Linked DNA regions of Homo sapiens: all the other regions are linked to region 2. The links are contacts of gene promoters, found by promoter capture Hi-C in blood cells and fetal thymus (Javierre and others, 2016). All regions are on one chromosome and are shown on one strand. Each heading gives the region's core, a stretch centred on a gene start or on the middle of the fragment in contact. The rest is flanking DNA. Distances are from core to core; before and after follow the strand shown.

The links. The method cuts DNA at HindIII sites, captures the fragments that hold promoters and counts their contacts. A CHiCAGO score of 5 or more calls a contact.
Region 1: a fragment that was not itself captured here is called in contact with the fragment with the promoter of PCDHB1 in region 2 in 1 of 17 cell types (neutrophils); the score reaches 5.3 in neutrophils.
Region 3: a fragment that was not itself captured here is called in contact with the fragment with the promoter of PCDHB1 in region 2 in 1 of 17 cell types (neutrophils); the score reaches 5.3 in neutrophils.

What each region holds. Positions count from the first base shown.
Region 1 is chr5:141,091,368-141,094,067 of GRCh38, forward strand. It overlaps PCDHB@. Among named protein-coding and RNA genes, the nearest start is that of PCDHB2, 1.9 kb to the right of the region's middle. The HindIII fragment of the contact is 3,290 bases long and covers 1-2,700 here.
Region 2 is chr5:141,050,064-141,052,763 of GRCh38, forward strand. It overlaps PCDHB1 (protocadherin beta 1), which reads left to right and starts at 1,311. Exons shown (of 1, transcript NM_013340.4): 1 at 1,311-2,700. The coding sequence starts at 1,408. PCDHB1-AS1 (PCDHB1 antisense RNA 1) reads right to left here. Exons shown (of 4, transcript NR_105056.2): 3 at 816-1,107. It also overlaps PCDHB@. RefSeq lists an enhancer at 892-1,720. The HindIII fragment of the contact is 4,524 bases long and covers 1-2,631 here.
Region 3 is chr5:141,003,326-141,006,025 of GRCh38, forward strand. All of the region lies in intron 3 of PCDHA1 (protocadherin alpha 1), which reads left to right. The region is part of intron 3 of PCDHA2 (protocadherin alpha 2); the gene reads left to right. The region is part of intron 3 of PCDHA3 (protocadherin alpha 3); the gene reads left to right. All of the region lies in intron 3 of PCDHA4 (protocadherin alpha 4), which reads left to right. It also overlaps PCDHA5, PCDHA6, PCDHA7, PCDHA8, PCDHA9 and PCDHA10, and 7 more genes. Among named protein-coding and RNA genes, the nearest start is that of PCDHAC2, 38 kb to the left of the region's middle. RefSeq lists an enhancer at 979-1,571. The HindIII fragment of the contact is 836 bases long and covers 915-1,750 here.

The DNA of each region.
Region 1 (2,700 bases), core at 86-2,585, 41 kb after region 2:
TCATTATAATATAAATAATTACTATATGTAAACATATTTCATTCAGACTTATAAATATGCTATAAATTATAATCTAATATATATGATTCCTTATTAAAGGAGATTAAGAAAATAAGAGCATTTGTAAAGAAGGAAGGTGTATTCTCATCAAGGTTTAAGAAAATAAATGATTTAAAATAGCATAGCGGATATAATGCATTTAAAGCTGGAAACCTATATACGAATATAAAATATTGGTGTTGGTTATATAATCTTTGAAAAAGAGAAACTTACTTCTATTTCTAGGTGTGTTAATAGCATTGAAATGAAAGATGGGTAAAACCTTCTGAATTGTGAGGACACATGACAACATGAGAGGTTTTAAAATTTTTTTCACAATAAAACCTAATGTGTTCTTGGTTATTGTATCCTCTGAAATATCTTAGATATTAAGTTTTCTATTCTCCAGCTTGTGAGAAGAGATTATGTTATTTTCTTCATATTACCTATTTTCCTCTCCTTTATGTTATCCCAAATTAACCATAACTGCTTTAGTTCAGAAAACCTGTCCAAAGGAAATAGCCATATACCTGGTTAAATATAAAATTTCGAGTAACCTACCAGTTATAATTTGCCTGTATGATATAACTGATCTTCACTACATCTATTTCGGACCCTAATCAGGTTTTGCAGATTATATAAAAAGCTGTTTTTAAAGACTTGGACCTTGGGTGTTATTCACCTCAATGAATTTGTTTAATGCTCAATGTCAATGAATTAACATATTTTGAATTATTATAACATCCATATAAAAGTAATAATCATGGAAAGCAAAAAATAATATCAACAGGTAGAGATAGGCATTTGTTTTCTAAATGTTAAGAAAAGGAACCTGTGATTATCCTTTTTTTAGCCAGTTACAAGATGATAAATGAGAGCTTTTTAAAATATTATGCTATTGTTACATTTAATAAATCATCCAGTCCAGTTTTCTGAAAATACAGGGGATAGAAGAACAGGTTAAATGATACCATGAGGAAACAATCAAATTTGGAATGTAGGACATCCTACAAAACAACTAGTCTGGACACTTCAGAAATCTAATGTCATTAAAGATGGGGGAGTATTCTAGAGTAAATAGATCTAATAGCCAAATACAATTATCAAAGTTGGTTGAAAAAGTTTCTAAGACATTCCTTATAACAAATAGTTAAAAAAGTAAGTGCATTTGTCAAAGGAACTTGAGTGAGTGTGAATTCTTATCAAAATTGAGGAAAAGATAATGGAAAGACAGTGAAATTTGATTGGGGCTGGATTTTAGATAACTGTAGAATTTTTTTAAATTTTCTTAGGTATGATAGAACCATTATGATTATATGAGATAATATTATAATTATGTGATACCTGCTGAAATATTTAGAGGTGAAATATGATGTCTGCAAGTTACTTTCATATAAGTCATCAGAAAAGCGGGTGTGTGTACAGAATAAGATAGAACAAATATGGTAAAATATAAACAATTGTTAAGTTTGGATGGAGGTTAGAGTTGTAGTTTATGTATAGTTCTTTTAACTGTTCTATATATTTAATTTTTTTCTTCATCCCCCAATTTTTTAACCCAATGGATCTTTTAGAGACACATCCTAATATTTATTATTATTATTATTATTTTGAGATGGAGTCTCGCTTTGTCACCAGGCTTGGAGTGCAATGGCATGATCTCAGCTCACTGCAATCTCCGCCTCCCGGGTTCAAGTGATTCTCCTGCCTCACCCTCCCAAGTAGCTGGGATTACAGGCACCCATCACCATGCCTGGCTCATTTTTTTTGTATTTTTAGTAGAGATGGGGTTTCACCAGGTTGGCCAGGATGGTCTTGATCTCTTGACCTCGTGATCTGCCTGCCTCGGCCTCCCAAAGTAAAATTATTTTTTAAAGCAGCCTTAGAGTTTACAGAAAATTGAGCAAATAGTACAAACAGTTCCCCTCACATACCGATTTTCTCCCACTCAAAGTTTCCCTGTTATCAAAATCTTGCATTACTGTGGTACATTTGTTACAATTGATGAGCCAATACTGGTAAATTATTAACTAAATTTCATAGTTTAGTGTTCACTCTTTGTGTTGTATAGTTCTGTGGATTTTGACAACGGCATAATGTCATGTATCTACCATTGTAGTATCGTAAAGTACCCCATGTTTAACCTCTTCATCCCCCTCCCTCTTCTTCCTAGCTATCACTTGTCTTTTAAATGTCTCTATAATTTGGCCTTTTTCAGAGTATCATGTAATTTGAATTATACAGTATCATTGCCTTTTCAGACTGGATTCTTTCACTGAGAAATATGCATTTAAGTTTCCTTCATGTCATTCTGTGGCTTGATAACTTCTTTATATTAACATTAAAAAAGAAACAAAAAGACAAAATTAAAAAACCTAACAACAAACAATGACATATATACCCTGTTTGGAAGCAGATTGAAGAAACCATCACTGAAAAGACATTTTTAAAGATAATTGGGGAAACTGGAATATTTACTGGCTATTTAATATTATGAAATTGCTCTTTGCTAGATGTGGTAATTGAATTGAGGTTATGTTGAAAGTTCTCCTAGGCATTAGAAAGGAAAATAATATTGATACATTTACAATAAGGAAATATCTGGCTGCTCTTGGAGAGTTTCATGAGGCTCAGACACATCAAAGTTCAGGAAAATGTGAA
Region 2 (2,700 bases), core at 61-2,560:
CCGTTAAGTGGCCATAATTTTATAGCACCTGGGACATAAAGTATTGAGCACAAATGAGAAATCAAATGTTTTAGGTAATGAGCATGAGACAGCATCAGAAGACAAGTTCTAGTTCTTACACTGCCATGAGTAGCTGTATGAATTGGGCAAGTGACTTCATCACTTCGGGCCTTAGTTTCTTCATCTGTTTTTTTTTTTTTTTAAAGTGGAGAGTGGGTGAGAAGGAGACTGGATCTCATCTTTCTGAAATGTCTTATTAAACATTCTATTATCCTATGATCATAAAGGAAACTCAACAAATATCTCCTATATTTCTATTAGGTCATTTTCAATATGTGTAAGCAATCTTATTTTATTTGCTTTAAAATCCAAAACCAAATATTTATCTTCATTTGATTTATTCATTATATTATCTGGGAAGCAGAGTAGTGTACTGATTAAGAGCATAGACTTCGGAGTCAGACAAAATTAAATTGAGTTTTATTTCTAACATTTGCTAGGTAGGGGACCTTGACATAACCTCTCCCATCTCACTTTCTTTGTCTTTTTTTTTTTTTAATAATGTCTACTCCATATAGTTGTTGCAAGTATTAAATTAAATAATGCATGTAAATCACTTGTCATAGTCTCAGTACATGGAAATCATATCCAATAAATACTACTGCCATTATAATCATAAGTGACAAGCCAGCTGCTCCCTTTGTGCACGTGTATACAGATATTTGGAGGGGGGCGGAGCGAATACGTAGAAGTAGCATGATAGCGTAGTGCAAATCAAGAGGTCAGTTGGCTTAGTCCCCTGTCAGTGTACTTACTGGACCTCAAGTTTCTGAAGGAGAATGTCTGTTCCCATTCCTTTTCCTACTGACCACTTCCTCCACATTCTCTAGCTCCCTGCCTCATATATTTGGCTTGGGCTTCGGAAGACTCTGCAGGATCCTTGTGCTTCTTTCTTGGTCTCTGGATGGACCGCAGAGTGTGCAGATGTAGCTTAAACTTGTTGCTGTTCGCCCACAGCTTCAGTGGCTCCAGACAGCTAGCAGATAGAATGACTTCAGCTTGAACGACTAATCTCATTGGCTTCTCAATTCCCAAGGACTTTTTTTCCTGAAAGGGAATTAACAGGTGAGTCTGTTGTTGCTTTGGCAACAAACTTTCAACCTCTACCTAACTCTCCGGAATGAGAACATATCTATTAATACATTCGCTAGACTGGGGAGTTGAGTCGCTCAATGCAAATTTTCTTTCAAGTGCAAAACAGCTTAATGGGCTCGGCTAGCCTTTGGTGGTGCTGCAGTTAGAGGCTAGTGAAGCGGAGAGCAGCTGTTGCAGTAACCTGTTGCAGAAAAGTGAAAGTATATCCGCAACAGTTGGCTCTGATTGCAGAGAGCGCGCTTGTGAGAACTGATGGCGGGTACGCGCAGAAAATCTTTGCAAAACAGGCAAGTGGGATCTCTTCTCATTTTTCTGTGCATATCTGTGGGGGATGCGACAACTATCCGCTATTCAGTGGCAGAGGAAATGGAGAGCGGCTCGTTTGTGGCCAACGTAGCTAAGGACCTAGGACTGGAGGTAGGGAAGCTGGCTGCGCGCGGGGCGCGGCTGGTTTCCGAGGGCAACAAAATGCATTTCCGGCTCCACCGCAAGACGGGAGATTTGTTTGTGAAGGAGAAACTGGATCGGGAGTCACTTTGTGGCAAAGCCGACCCTTGTGTTCTGCACTTTGAAGTAGTCCTGGTGGAGCCGCTGCAGTCCTTCCGGGCCGAGGTCAGGGTATTTGATATCAATGACAATGCCCCAGTTTTCCTAAACAAGGAGCCGCTTTTAAAGATTCCGGAGAGCACCCCTTTGGGTTCACGTTTTCCTCTGCAGAGCGCCCAGGATCTGGACGTGGGCCTTAACGGTCTCCAGAACTACACCCTGAGTGCCAATGGGTATTTCCACCTGCACACCCGCTTCTGCAGCCACGGGCCTAAATATGCTGAGCTGGTGCTGAACAAACCCCTGGACCGAGAGGAGCAGCCTGAAGTCAACTTGACAATTACGGCGGTGGACGGCGGGTCCCCGCCTAAGTCTGGCACAGCTCACATCCACGTGGTGGTTCTGGATGTCAACGACCACGTGCCCCAGTTCTCGCGACTGGTGTACAGAGCCCAGGTATCAGAGAACAGCCCCAATGGCTCTTTGGTGGCCACGGTGACTGCCGTGGACCTAGACGAGGGCACCAACAAAGCGATAACTTACTCTTTAGCTCAAAACCCAGAAGCAATTCTCAAGACGTTTCAGATTGACCCTCAAAATGGAGAAGTTCGACTAAGAGGACCCCTCGATTTTGAAGCCATTGAAACATACGACATTGACATTCAAGCTACAGATGGTGGAGGCCTCTCTGCCCACAGCAAAGTCCTGGTAGAAGTGGTGGATGTGAATGACAATCCTCCCGAAGTGATGGTCTCCTCTGTGTCCAGCCCACTCCCTGAAGACTCACCACCACAGACAGTAGTAGCCCTTTTCACTATCAGAGACCGGGACATTCGAGTGGGAGGAAAAGTCACCTGCTTCCTCAGAGAAGACCTTCCCTTTGTAATCAAACCTACATTTGGGAATTCTTACTCACTGGTCACTGACAGAAGCTTGGATCGGGAGGAGGTCTCAGGCTATAATATCACCATTGTTGCCATGGATACTGGACCACCTAGC
Region 3 (2,700 bases), core at 83-2,582, 47 kb before region 2:
GGGTTTTTTGTTTGTTTGCTCTGTCACCCAGGCTGGAGTGCAGTGGTGCAATCTCAGCTCACTGAAACCTCCGCCTCCCGGGTTCGAGTGATTCTTATGCCTCAGCCTCCCAAGTAGATGAAATTACAGGCGTGCACCACCACAGTCTCGCTAATTTTTATAGTTTTAGTAGAGATGGGGTTTCACCATGTTCCCTAGGCTGGTCTTGAACTCCTGGCTTCAAGTGATCCACCTGCCTCAGACTCCCAAAGTGCTGGGATTTTAGATGTGAGCCACCATTCCCGGCCCCAGAGGGCAGTTTTTAAAGTAGAAGTGAAGATCTGTATGCATTTATTAAAATATATGTTGTTCTGATTTTAAAATATATCCCTACCAATTGTGAAGATATCGGCTAATCCAATAAAAAAGCAAAACCATATTTTGTATAATTATGGTCGTATTCTGTTAAATAAACTTTTAAATCCTATTGGGTTGTAATCTGTAGTCTGGGAAGGGCTCTGCCTAACGATTCAGACCCCTACCAGATTTATATGTGTCTGAAATCCTCCTTCTAGCCTCTTAACAGGCCCATTCATTTGGGTCTTGACTGCATCCTCAGTCTTGTCTTTGCCTGAGGGTGAGCTAGGACCCTGGGAGCATAAGGGAGGGGACTTGCCGGAGATCCTAGAAGGGAAAGGAGGCAGCACTGAAAGAAGAAACATTTCCTTGATTGATCATTTGCTGATACTGGCCCCTGGTTGGGGTTAGGGGTAGAAATGTGCTTCTTCCGTTTTCATCTTCTTCAAAAGGGAGTATCTCCATGATTCTGCCCCAAAGGCATGACATTTTATAGGCAAAGCCAGCCAAGTGTCTTGAGTGCTCTTAACCAAAAGGAATTCAGATTAGGAGGTCAGTCAGTGTTTGTCAGATCCTTAAGCTTTTGTTTTACTGGAATGAGTCACAGTCTACATGCTGCTGAGCTCTCAGAGATGTTTGTTTTATACAACAACCAGAACAGGTGAGGCACAGTGGTCTGTGAGGGACTGGAGAGACCACACCTTGTTCTGCTCTGCGGAAGCTGGACATGTGGAGGAGGCACCTGACTAGATCTCTGCCTCCTGGAGTTTAGGCTGAGTCATATAGAACCAGGAAGCTCAGTGACATGTTAAAGTGGATTAACTCTTGGCAGTCCTGCTGTGAGGGGCTCCCTCTGCCAATACACACAGCCATTAATGTCCTTTAACTGTGCAAGATGAACATATCTCTGTGTTCTGCATCTCCAGATGACAGTGCTTAGGCCTCATGCAGAGTCCTGGTTATGGTTGAAGAAAAATTTCCATTTTGGGCTCTGAGGGCAACTAAAGGACTGTGGAGTGGTGCTGAAACCCAGTTTTAGGTGCCGAATCAGAGGTTTTTAAATACATTTCTCTCTTTTGTCTCAGTCTCTTAGAGACAGGACCTGTATTTTAAAGGTAAACAGGCAGATTCTGGCTGAGCTCAATTGCAGATTTGATTAACTTAGATAGATCAAAGTCATTAGTCTCAGAGAAAAAATTTGTTTCTCATCCCTAAAGTGCTATTGTGTCAGCTCTGCCAGGGTGTAAGGAAAAGGGTTTGGAAGAGAGAAGAAAATTTCTTACCCTCTCTCGTCACTGCCTGCTGTAAATTTGCAGTATCATTATCTTGGTCTCCTAAGCCCTGAGAGCTGCATTATATATAATTGCCCATATGTGATACCATTTACTGAATTCTTGCATTGTGCTAAGGATCAAGCTTAGTACTTTACATGCATTACATCATTGTCTTTAGGGACCCCAAAAGTGCCTCATTGGAGAGTTGTTTGGTCTGCTAAAGAGTGGGTACCACTTTCACTTCTCACATCAGTCCTTTCATTCATTCATCCAGCAAGTATTTACTAAACACCTGTTATGGGCCAGGAATTGTGCTAGGCACTGGTGATACATTGGTGAATAAACAGATACATTTTTTGCCTTTGTGAATCTTACAGTGGTAGAGAATAATAGGCCAAGGGGGTGCTGCTTGGCTAGGAATGTCATAGAATGCCTTTCCAAGGAGGTTACATTTAATACAGACTTGAAGAGTGAGGAGTCATGCTAAGAATGGATGAGAGGCTCACGCCTGTAATCCCAGCACTTTGGGAGGCCGAGACGGGCGGATCATGAGGTCAGGAGATCGAGACCATCCTGGCTAACACGGTGAAACCCCGTCTCTACTAAAAATACAAAAATTAGCCGGGCATGGTGGCGCGTGCCTGTAGTCCCAGCTACACAGGAGGCTGAGGCAGGAGAATGGCGTGAACCCGGGAGGCGGAGCTTGCAGTGAGTCGAGATCGCGCCACTGCACTCCAGCCTGGGCGACAGAGCGAAACTCCGTCTCAAAAAAAAAAAAAAAAAAAAAAAAAAAAAAGAATGGATGAGAAATCATTCAAGACAAAAGCAAACCAGATGTGTAAAGATCCTGAGGCAAAAACAACTCCAAGGAGCCAGGTATGGTGGCCTGTAGTCCCAGCCACTTGGGAGGCTGAGACAGGAGGGTCGATTGAGTCCAGGAGTTTGAGGTTACATCAAGCAATGATTGCACCACTGCACTTCAGCCTGGTTGACAGAGTGAGAACCTATCTCTAACAAACAACAATAAAAAAACAATTCCAAAGAGTGTTTGAGGATCTGAAAGAAGGCCTGTATGGTTGGAGTATAATAG